Regions from separate parts of the Homo sapiens genome. Here region 1 is linked to region 2. Evidence: promoter capture Hi-C in 16 types of primary human blood cells and fetal thymus (Javierre and others, 2016). All regions are on one chromosome and are shown on one strand. The core of a region is centred on a gene start or on the middle of the fragment in contact, and the rest is flanking DNA. Distances in the headings are between cores, read along the strand shown.

Region 1 (4,843 bases), core at 1,504-4,003, 250 kb after region 2:
AGTTGCAAATCTACATTTTATGTACCTTTATTATGCACTTACGCATCAGTCTCCATGCAGTAAATGCACATGTTGTTCTATGCGGTTTACAGTTACTAAGTCATTTAATTTTAAATGACCCGATGGTACTATTAATATCCCTATTTTAATAGATGAGAAAACTGAGGCACAGAGAGGTTAAGTAATTTTCTCAAGGTTTCGGAGCTAATATTTAATACATGGTGGAGCTAGAACTCAAACCCATGGTGTCTGGCTCTAAAAACCATGCACTTAGGACCGGGCGTGGTGGCTCATGCCTGTAATCCCAGCACTTTGGGAGGCTGAGGCGGGCAGATACCTGAGGTTGGGAGTTTGAGACCAGCCTGACCAACATGGAGAAACCCTGTCTCTACTAAAAATACAAAGTTAGCTGGGCGTGTTGGCGCATGCCTGTAATCCCAGCTACTCGGGAGGCTGAGGCAGGAGAATCACTTGAATCCGGGAGGTGGAGGTTGCGGTGAGCTGAGATCATACCATTGCACTCCAGCCTGGGCAACAAAAGCGAAACTCCCTCTCAAAAAAGAAAACAAAACAAAAACAAAAAACATGCTCATTACTGATATACTATGCTGTCTCAGCATATGGACCTGGAAGATGCATTATATTGGTAGATAAGGTAAAATGTATGTTTTTGGAGGGTGGCATTGAAACTGATTCTTATGTTGTTATAACTTTGAAATGTTGGCCTGAGCTCTGATTTATAGCTGATACTGTTCCCCAGCTGCACACAGCTGATCTGTCTATGGCCTTCTGGTCCTTCCTTGGATCCCTATGTCCATCCTCCATTCTATGGCCCAGGGTTTACTCAGCACCCTGAACCCTAGAAGTTCACTTATAATTACTGGTTGGCTGTAGCCTCCTCATACTGGCCTGGGCTATACACATGTCTTTCCAGCTCTGAGTTTAATGACCTCACATTGGTGGCTTGGAATCAGCCAGGGCAAAAGTCTTTACAGCATGGAAACCAGCAAATGCCTTCTCCCCATCCCTCGCCCCATCACTTTGGCAATCTGGTTACTCACACAACACTGCCTAGGATCTACTACCATTCATATCCCAGGATAGGCATACCCCGAACATGGAGGTTTTCATGTGTTTTTACTGTATGTCCCCATATGGCATTATAATGTTAACATTCATGGGTCTAAGCCCTTCCTGGACACCAAAGAAGAACAAAAAAATGGCAGAATCTCAGCAATACAGCAGCAGTGGCAAAATATGATATGTGCTTTCCCTTACAATTCTGCATTTATTGCAAACATTACTAATCACTCATGACATGACAGAGCCTGGCCCCAGACCCAGAATCCTCATCAACATAGCACTCTAAAGTCTCGACAGCCACTGCCAACCACTCAGATTTGGTACATGAGATGAAATTATTTACTGTCCCTCTTAGAATCAGAAATTCTCATTTCTCCCTAGGATATTCCCACTCTGTATTATTTATAACACTTCCCTAAGTTATAGAAAGATTTCTAAAAATGATGACCATGAAAGAAAACTTGTTGTCCCCAAAATTTAAATATTTAGAGCATAAGATCCATCCGCTATTCTGCCTGATAAAATCAGTTATGCAATACTCTACAAAGTACTTCGGCATTTGTAATTTTCCTAAGGACTCCATGCTCATGTATTGATATTCATCCATAATTAAATATATATGTTTGATGTCAATATTCCTTTGTTAGTCAGTGGAAATATATGAGTTCTCTGTTCATTGAAACCAGCTCAATGGAAATATTCTTTGACTTGGTGATTAAAAGAAAGGAAATTTGTCTTGCTACTGATGTCAAAATTGTATCATTAAAACATTTTCTGAATATAGAACAGAGTAAGAAAAAGTTTAAAATGTTACTTATTATTTTTTCATCTTCCTCTTTTCTACCTCAAGCTCAAATTTTTAGAAACAATTCCCTTAATTTGTTCTAGTTTCAAAAAGAGAATTGCAGGGATATATGGAGATACATTTATAGAGTTTGAGTAGTTTAGAGGTATGTTTAAAGGGGAGCATTAATCTATCAATACAGTGAAAAAGCATCTATAAGTGATGAGATTGTATGGTCTATATCTGATATAAATAAGCTCACTTAATATCTACATATATAGTGAAGACTACTCATAATCTCAAGAGATTACTATCCAGACATGTGAAAATTGTATATCCACTTGCAAAATTCCCAAATAACATGAAGAATGCATAAATGCAAATTGAGAGGTTTACAACAATAGCTGTCAGAGGAAAACCTGAGCTAATTGGTGAAAGGTGTTAGAGGCAAGGTTCTGAAGCATGAATGAGAATTGGATGAATGAGAAATAAAATAGAGGGAATGTGAGAAGGTCTGCATGAGCAAAGGCTCCAAAGAAGGATGGTGTAAATCTTATTTAATGGAAAAGCACATCAGAATAGGGGCATTTGCAATGAGGGTAGTGGTCATAAAGAGTAGGTGACTTTGAATATCAAAATAAAGAATTGATTTTTATTTAGAATTGTGTATCGTTTCAGTCTATGAGGCCATTATATTTTTATCTCATGTTTTATAGGCAGAAGTATCCTAATCTTTATATGAACCCTTGCAGAGCAAGGGTAAGCTTCTTATCTAATGTTACAGGAGCCGTGAAACAAGCACAGGATTAAGACTTAGAAAGCGTGGATTTGAATTCTGGGGCTGTCGCTTACTAATGGATGATTTTTGCATGTTGCTTAACCTCTCTGAATCTTAGTTTCTTTATGAACATCATAGTACATAGCTGTTGAGATTGGAGAGCCGAGATAGTTAGGATTAATCATGCTTCTTTCTTCCACTCCAGTTTTGAAACCAATGGAGAGATCAACACAAGCTTTGGAGAGGAGATCAAAATATCTGCTTCACTGGAAGGAGTTTTGGATTGCTCAACAAGGTTCAGATCTGTGGCATAATCAGGCTTCCTAATCCTGAACCAAAGTTGTTGTTGTATCTCGTAGTTGTCACCTGAGAGCTGACTGACCTGTTTCAAGCATATGTGAGATGCCTTCTGGAAATGCCCGGAAGCATATAGCTAATGGGATGAGGCATTTCAAGGTTGAACTTCAGCAAGAGCAAGTGGGATAAAGGGCAAAAAGCAGCACATTCCTTTCAAAATGTCCCCATTTTAAACTGCAGGCTAGAGTAGACAATGGAAATATATGACATATAAAGAAACTGGTGAGATTATTAAGCAGAGGGCCTTCTGGGGAGCATTAAAGAGTGAGCAAGAAAAATTTCTCAGACATGGTGATTCTAGAATTGAAAAATCATAGACTCTTTCTCTTCTCTCTCCTTTGAGAGTTTCCAGATGAATTCTTGGATCTGGCTACTGAGCAAATATATGAATAATAACCTAGGATCAGCTGGGTATAAGAGGTTTCCACCAGAAGTCCATGAAAACCAATGTTTTTAAGCATCTATTGGGCAACTACCATAAACAATCAGCAAGATGTTTAAACAGTTGATTCTGCCGGCGGCCCAACCAGTTTTTAACTGTATCACGAAAACTGGCCTGGGGGTACAGTCTGAGATTATTCCAGCCCTGCTTTTACACCGCCAGAAATTCCCTTTCTGTTACAAATTTCTACCCCAGAGAGGTTTGCATATTCTTGGCATTTTCACTGTGCATCAGTGAATCAGCTAGCCTACGGGCCAAGGAGAGGGGAAAAAAATCCCAAATAAAACTCAACCCAGTTAGGATGTCTTCATCTATTTTTCAGTGGGAAAAAATACAGCTGGACTCAGTGACTTCAGTCAAAAGCAAACATTACTAGTTGCTTCATTTTTCTAATTTTTATTTTTGACTCTCAAGTTTTGGAGGGCATAATAAAGACATAGCCTCAGCAAAGTCACTTAGAAGATTGAGTTCGTTATTTTGCAAAGCTTGGGTAGTGACACTTCTGCAAAATGCACAAGCACATGAGCAGAGAGATGTGTGAATTCAGGAAAGCAGCCAAATGCACATCAGAGCTGAGGAATGTCACAGCGAAATGAAGAAAACTTGTAAACACCTATCTGTATTTTTAGGTAGAGAATGTTCTAACATATTGCCAATGGGTGCTGCCTGTGTGTTCCTTCCCCTAAGCTTTAAACTCAACTGATATTAAAGGTGATTTGAAAACAATGAAAATTGACAGCTTTATTAATCTAGATGGTGTGTGTGAGAGAGAGACAGAGTGTGTGTGTGTGTGTGCGCGAACACGCACATGATGTGTGACTGCTGCATGTATAGACTGTGCATTTTTACTGTGGGCCTTGCACAGACGAGGGAGCCCTCTACTGATTGGAAATTGTACTAGATGTAAACTATAGAGGGATGCTTTCAGTGCGTTGCTCATGTATCCTCCAAAATGCAGACATTTTGCTTATTTATTTTTCAAATTATGACAGCAGATGCTTTATTTTCGGAAAGGAACTAGAGATGTCAGTCATCATGTGCATACAAGTATATGTCATTCCTTCTATTTAAGGTAAAATTCTTTGATTAAAAATATCTACACTCAGTCTTCAACCTTTTAATATAAAGATGATTGTAACACAATTAAACCACAAATGTCTACATGACTGTGATGAGAATGTGTGACAGAGATCATAACCGCGTTTATCTATTATCATGGTTTATCACACACTATTTTTTCCCTTAAGCGTGTATTTCTTATTTTATACTTTTTTTTTCTCAGAGCATAAAGACAGTTTTAGGGGTGACAATTTGAACTCATTCATGTGGACAGGTTTGTATGTGCTATATTTTCATATGCATAGTTAAATCATATTATTAAGTCCTGTGTACAGACAAG
Region 2 (4,933 bases), core at 339-2,838:
TGCCATTTATTTGTTGAAGAAACCAGGTCATTTGTTTTGTAAAAACCTCTCATTCTGGATTTGGCTGTTTGCATCATGGTATAGTTTAACAAGTCCCTCTATTTTCTGTAAAATGGTAGTCAGATCTCATAATTTTCTTTTGGAAAGAATATTTCATAGGTAGTACTGTGCACTTCCTGTTGCATAAGGAGACACATATTTGTCTCCACGTTTAGTGAAGACTGACTACACTGACTTCAAGTGTTGTCAGTCTGATCCATCATTACAAAGTGCTCCAACTTTTACCTAATGCTATTAGCCATTGATGACTCTTGGCTGGGTCCATTATTTCATCAAGAGTTGGAAAATGATGATTTTATATTTCTATCATTATTACTAACTGGAATTCCATAAAGAAAAAAATGCCTTTCATCAACTACGTGGTTACCCTGAAATACAACTCATGCCCAAAAAGCAGGATAAATGCTTGTTTCTTCATTGAAATTAATCTACTTTCAGCATGAGCTGGTATCCTATTTAACTTCCAATAGCGTGTAATGAGTCTCCCTCAACTCACTCTAACTTCTCCCTAAGGTCACCAGGTGGTTTTTACCGTAAAATCTCGCAGGGCCAGAATGGGGTAAGACAGGATGGAATTGGGCAGGCCAAGGCAGGATGCAGGGATTTAGGAGAAGGGGGTACTGGGTCAGGGAAGACAGAATACCTTAAGCATGCTCTAGGAGGTGGAATCCGAGCTTTCTGAGCTGTCCTGGACGTTGGTGCTCTCCACAGACTCCTTAGGTTCTTTGCTGTCACTGCCACTTTCTTCGGTAGCCGGGTTCTTTTGCTGACAGGCCTCTTCAGAATCAGAAAGTGTGCTGCCCTGGGTCTCCTGGTTCTCCCTGGAGCCCAGGACCACATACCCGCCCTTCTTCAGGTCCATTTGTCGTCTCAGCTCATCTGCCATCTGCGAGAGATCCCGCTTCATAGCATAAGCATCTTCCCCATCTGCATAGTATTTAGGTTCCACCTCACTAATCTGAAAGTTGAGGGTGTTAGAATAAAGGTGCAAGGCTGGCCGGTTACTCTTCCTGACGTGCAGAGACACGTATTTGGCGTTAAAGTTCTCTATCATGGCCCTGGAGGCCTGGTCCATCAGCTTCTGGGCCAGGCCGAGGCGCCGGTGTGAACGCTTCACGGCCAGTGAGGTGATATGGCCATGCGGGACATCATCTGGTTCCTCCTCCATTTTGGCCAGAACATAGCCCACAATCTTCCCGTCCTCATCCTCAGCGATGTAAGAAAGCTGGGGCCAGGAAAGGCCATGATATAAATAGTATTTCATCTGGTAGTTCTCAGGAAGGCAAAGGAGGTTGCAGTGTTGCATATTCATCAGGTCGTCTGGCTGAGCGTTGCGGATGTTCATAATGGCAGAGGGTAGGGAACCGGTTGGACTGCAGTGAACCCAGAAGAGGCTGTCGCCGACCTTAAGGGGCACTGTTTGCCTCAGGAATCGAGTCCAGGGGGCTAACACCACCGGGCTGAATCGTGTGGAGGGCGGATGGCGGGAAGGCGGAAGGAGCAGGAGATGGAAAAGATGGTGCCAAACTGCGGCTTTCAGAAGTGCGTCACTGATCCCAGCCAATGAGGTTTCGCTTCATTGTGCGTGTGCGTGCGCAGGGGTTAGGGGGTGGGGAGAGAGGAGTTCATTGTGGTCGCCTTTGTTTTAAATAACGCGATCCATTGCAATTATTATTTTTGTTTCAGTTTTAACTTTTTGATTTGGGTACATCTGAATAAATTTTCACAAACTGGAGAAACCCATATAACAGGAACTTAGAGAAAATAAAGAACATTGTATCCCAGAACCCCCCCTCCTGTCCCCTTCCAGTACCTGCTTCCAACATCCCAAGAATAACGATTACCTAGACTTCCGACAGACTTTATATAAATGGAATCATAGTGCATGCATTATTTTTGTGTCAGGTTTTTTCAGTCACTCTTTGTAAGTTTCAGCCACCTCGTGTATAGCTGAGGGTTCTTTATATTCTTCCTTGTTTGATATTCTATTGCCTAAATATGTCACAATTTTTTTTATCAATTCTACTGTTACTGGCCATTTTGTCATTTTCAGTTTGGGAATAGTACCCCTAGGGTAGCTGAACATTCTAGACTTGTCTTTAGTTGGAACAAATGCATATTTATCTAGGATTAGAATTATTGGGTCATTGAATATAATGATGTTCAACTTTTATAAATACTGCCACTTTTTCAGAGTGGTTGCTCCACCTTCTCAACAGCATTTGCTATTTCCCCATTGTTTTTATTTTAGCCATTCTTTTGTAGGGGTAGAAGTATTACACTGTGGTTGTATTTGCATTGCACTGATGAGTAGTAAAGTTGAGCACTTTATATGCTTATTAGCCATACTGTGTTCTCTTTTGTAAATGGCTGCTCAGATTTTTTTGCTCATTTTTCTACTTGTGTGTCTTTTTCACATTAATTTTTGAGTTTTATCAAAAATATATTCTGGGTATAAGTCCTTTGTCAGATATATTTGTAATGAATATCATTCTTGTCTATTGATTGATATTTCCCTTTCTTAATGGTGATTTTTGACACCAAGCATGAATTTTAATATAGTTCAATTTTTCCAGTTTTAAAATTTGGTGGTTAATGCTTTTTGTGTTCTGTTTAATAAATCGTTGCATACTCCATGGTGACTGAAGGCATTCTTTTATATTTTCTTCTAAGATTGTTAGTTTTACATTTTATATTTAGATCTGCAATTGACTGAAATTTAGTTTTGTGTATGCTGTAAGGTATCAGTGGACCCAATATTCTTTTCCTGTGTGGATGTACAATTCATATAGCACCATTTACACCATTTTGTGAAAAAAGATTATTATCCTTTCTTCATATTACTGCATTGTTACCTTTGTCATAAATCCTAAGTTTTATTTGTAGATGCATTTAAAAATTTTAATGTCATCTTAGCTGGGTGTGGTTATTCATGCCTGTAGTCTCAGCTACTTGGGAGGCTGAGGCAGGAGGATCACTTGAGGCCAGGAGTTTAAGGCTGTAGTGAACTATGATTGCATGACTGCACCCCAGCCTGGGTGACAGAACAAGAAGAAGAATAAGTAAATAATCATATGCCATCTCGATAAAGCAAGATTTGGGGTATTTAATAGTGCAAGGAAGTCACATTTTATTAGCACTACTTGCACAAATGGAATTATCTGTGTGTCTCGTACAGTCTTTCTTCCCAGTTTCCTAGCAGACCTCAGAACTCAAGTACCAAAATGAATTATGTTGTAATTAGCCAGGTCATGGATACCCTCTTAACTCATCTAGAATATGTGTGCAGCTTTCTTTCCAATGAGGGTACGCACTCCTTTAATAGCTAGAGTAACCTAGAGCCATGTGATCTGTGAAACATAGCTTGAATAGCCACTATTTTTGTTGTATTTTGACAATTGGCAGTATCTATTAATATATTTTTAAGATTTAACGTAAGCATTTTAGCTCCCTGATTTTTTGATAGGCTGTATACATTGGAAAAGTTATTCACCAGTATTATTTCCGTTCAGAAATTTCTTTCATGTTGTGCCTGACACCATGGATGGGGATCTATAATTTGTAGTGATGTAGCTCTAAAAGCATGATCCAGAAGAGTCATTTTGTTGATTCTTCTGTAGTGGGTTCTTCTTTTAAAAAGCATAGACTATTGAAACTTGAGTGCACTGTATTCTTTGACAGGGTTAATTTAAATGCAGCCAGGTTCATTACAGATACTATATCCTTCAACATAGAATAGTGCTGACTTAATGCTCAAGAGTTGGGCAGTATACTTGACTTATTCCAGAGTAGGCATGGTACCAAAACCAACAGTAATAAGCATGGTTTTTAATATACAATAATGTGATCTTTATTCATATAAAATCGTAGAAGGAATATGATGACAACTCCACTGTCATGGAAGAATGGTCTACCAGTTGCAATGACCACAGTAGCTAAGACAAAAAATGCAAAAACTGGTTATATTCTGATAGGCTGTCTTCTTTTTTGACAGAGAAGTTGCTATCATATATCCTCAGCATTTGCATATTCATTTCAGCTGCAGTGGAAAGCATGGATCCAAAACTAAAACTCTGACCCTTAAGGTGGTGTTGGTAGTAAGTAGTACTTAATTTGGCCCCTCCTACTGAGGTCAAGTATAAATGTTCTCTCATGAATTACAATGTGCCTCTAATTTCTGGACTATCGATCTAGCATGTCTTGTCAAGTTTTGTATGTGGTATGTTTTTATCATAAGTAAAGGGCATTGGCAATCTTCATTAATATTTTGCAAAAATTTAGCAAAAAGTCATCTAATACATAAATGTTTTGTAAATGAGAGCTCCTGGAGTTCTAGTCAGGTATTATGTCATATCTATAATATTTCATGTGGAAAAAGCTCCCATCTTCCTAACTGGCTTTATATCTCATGCCTATAGGATCTAAGGGCAAGACATATGATTATTTGAGCCTGGGTTCTGCACAAATCTTAGTCAAGTTATTTTTTAACCTTATGTTTCTACATCTTATCTGTCTTTTGTATGAATTCTACATACCACTGTGGTGCTATGGATGAATAAATAATTTCTATATACACTTCCTTTACAATATGACTTGCAAACTAATTTTCTTCTTACTAGTAAAAAACAAGTTTATTCCAAATATTATAAAGAGTTTTTAAATAGCTTTTTATTGCCCCCCTCACCCTGAGTAATTTTATCAGGTTTACTGTAAGAATATATTATGTACCTGAAAAAAATATATAACATTTCCTAAACACTTTCATTTGAACAACTTTTCTTCATATGTGTGAATAAACAAACCTAATACTCATAAATGACCCTAGGAATGATGGGTTAGCCATCCTTTGTGTCTTTACTGGACTTCCTAAAAT

What was found. Contacts are between HindIII fragments. The CHiCAGO score rates a contact against its expected background, and 5 or more counts as called.
Region 1: a contact is called between a fragment that was not itself captured here and the fragment with the promoter of NAA11 in region 2, in 1 of 17 cell types (megakaryocytes). The highest score is 6.3, in megakaryocytes.

What each region holds. Positions count from the first base shown.
Region 1 is chr4:79,572,291-79,577,133 of GRCh38, forward strand. It overlaps LINC00989 (long intergenic non-protein coding RNA 989), which reads left to right. Exons shown (of 4, transcript NR_038826.1): 4 at 2,851-4,170. All of the region lies in intron 1 of LOC107986294 (a long non-coding RNA gene), which reads left to right. Among named protein-coding and RNA genes, the nearest start is that of LINC00989, 82 kb to the left of the region's middle. The HindIII fragment of the contact is 249 bases long and covers 2,630-2,878 here.
Region 2 is chr4:79,324,473-79,329,405 of GRCh38, forward strand. It overlaps NAA11 (N-alpha-acetyltransferase 11, NatA catalytic subunit), which reads right to left and starts at 1,589. Exons shown (of 2, transcript NM_032693.3): 1 at 704-1,589. The coding sequence starts at 1,405. The coding sequence ends at 716. The HindIII fragment of the contact is 18,990 bases long and covers 1-4,933 here.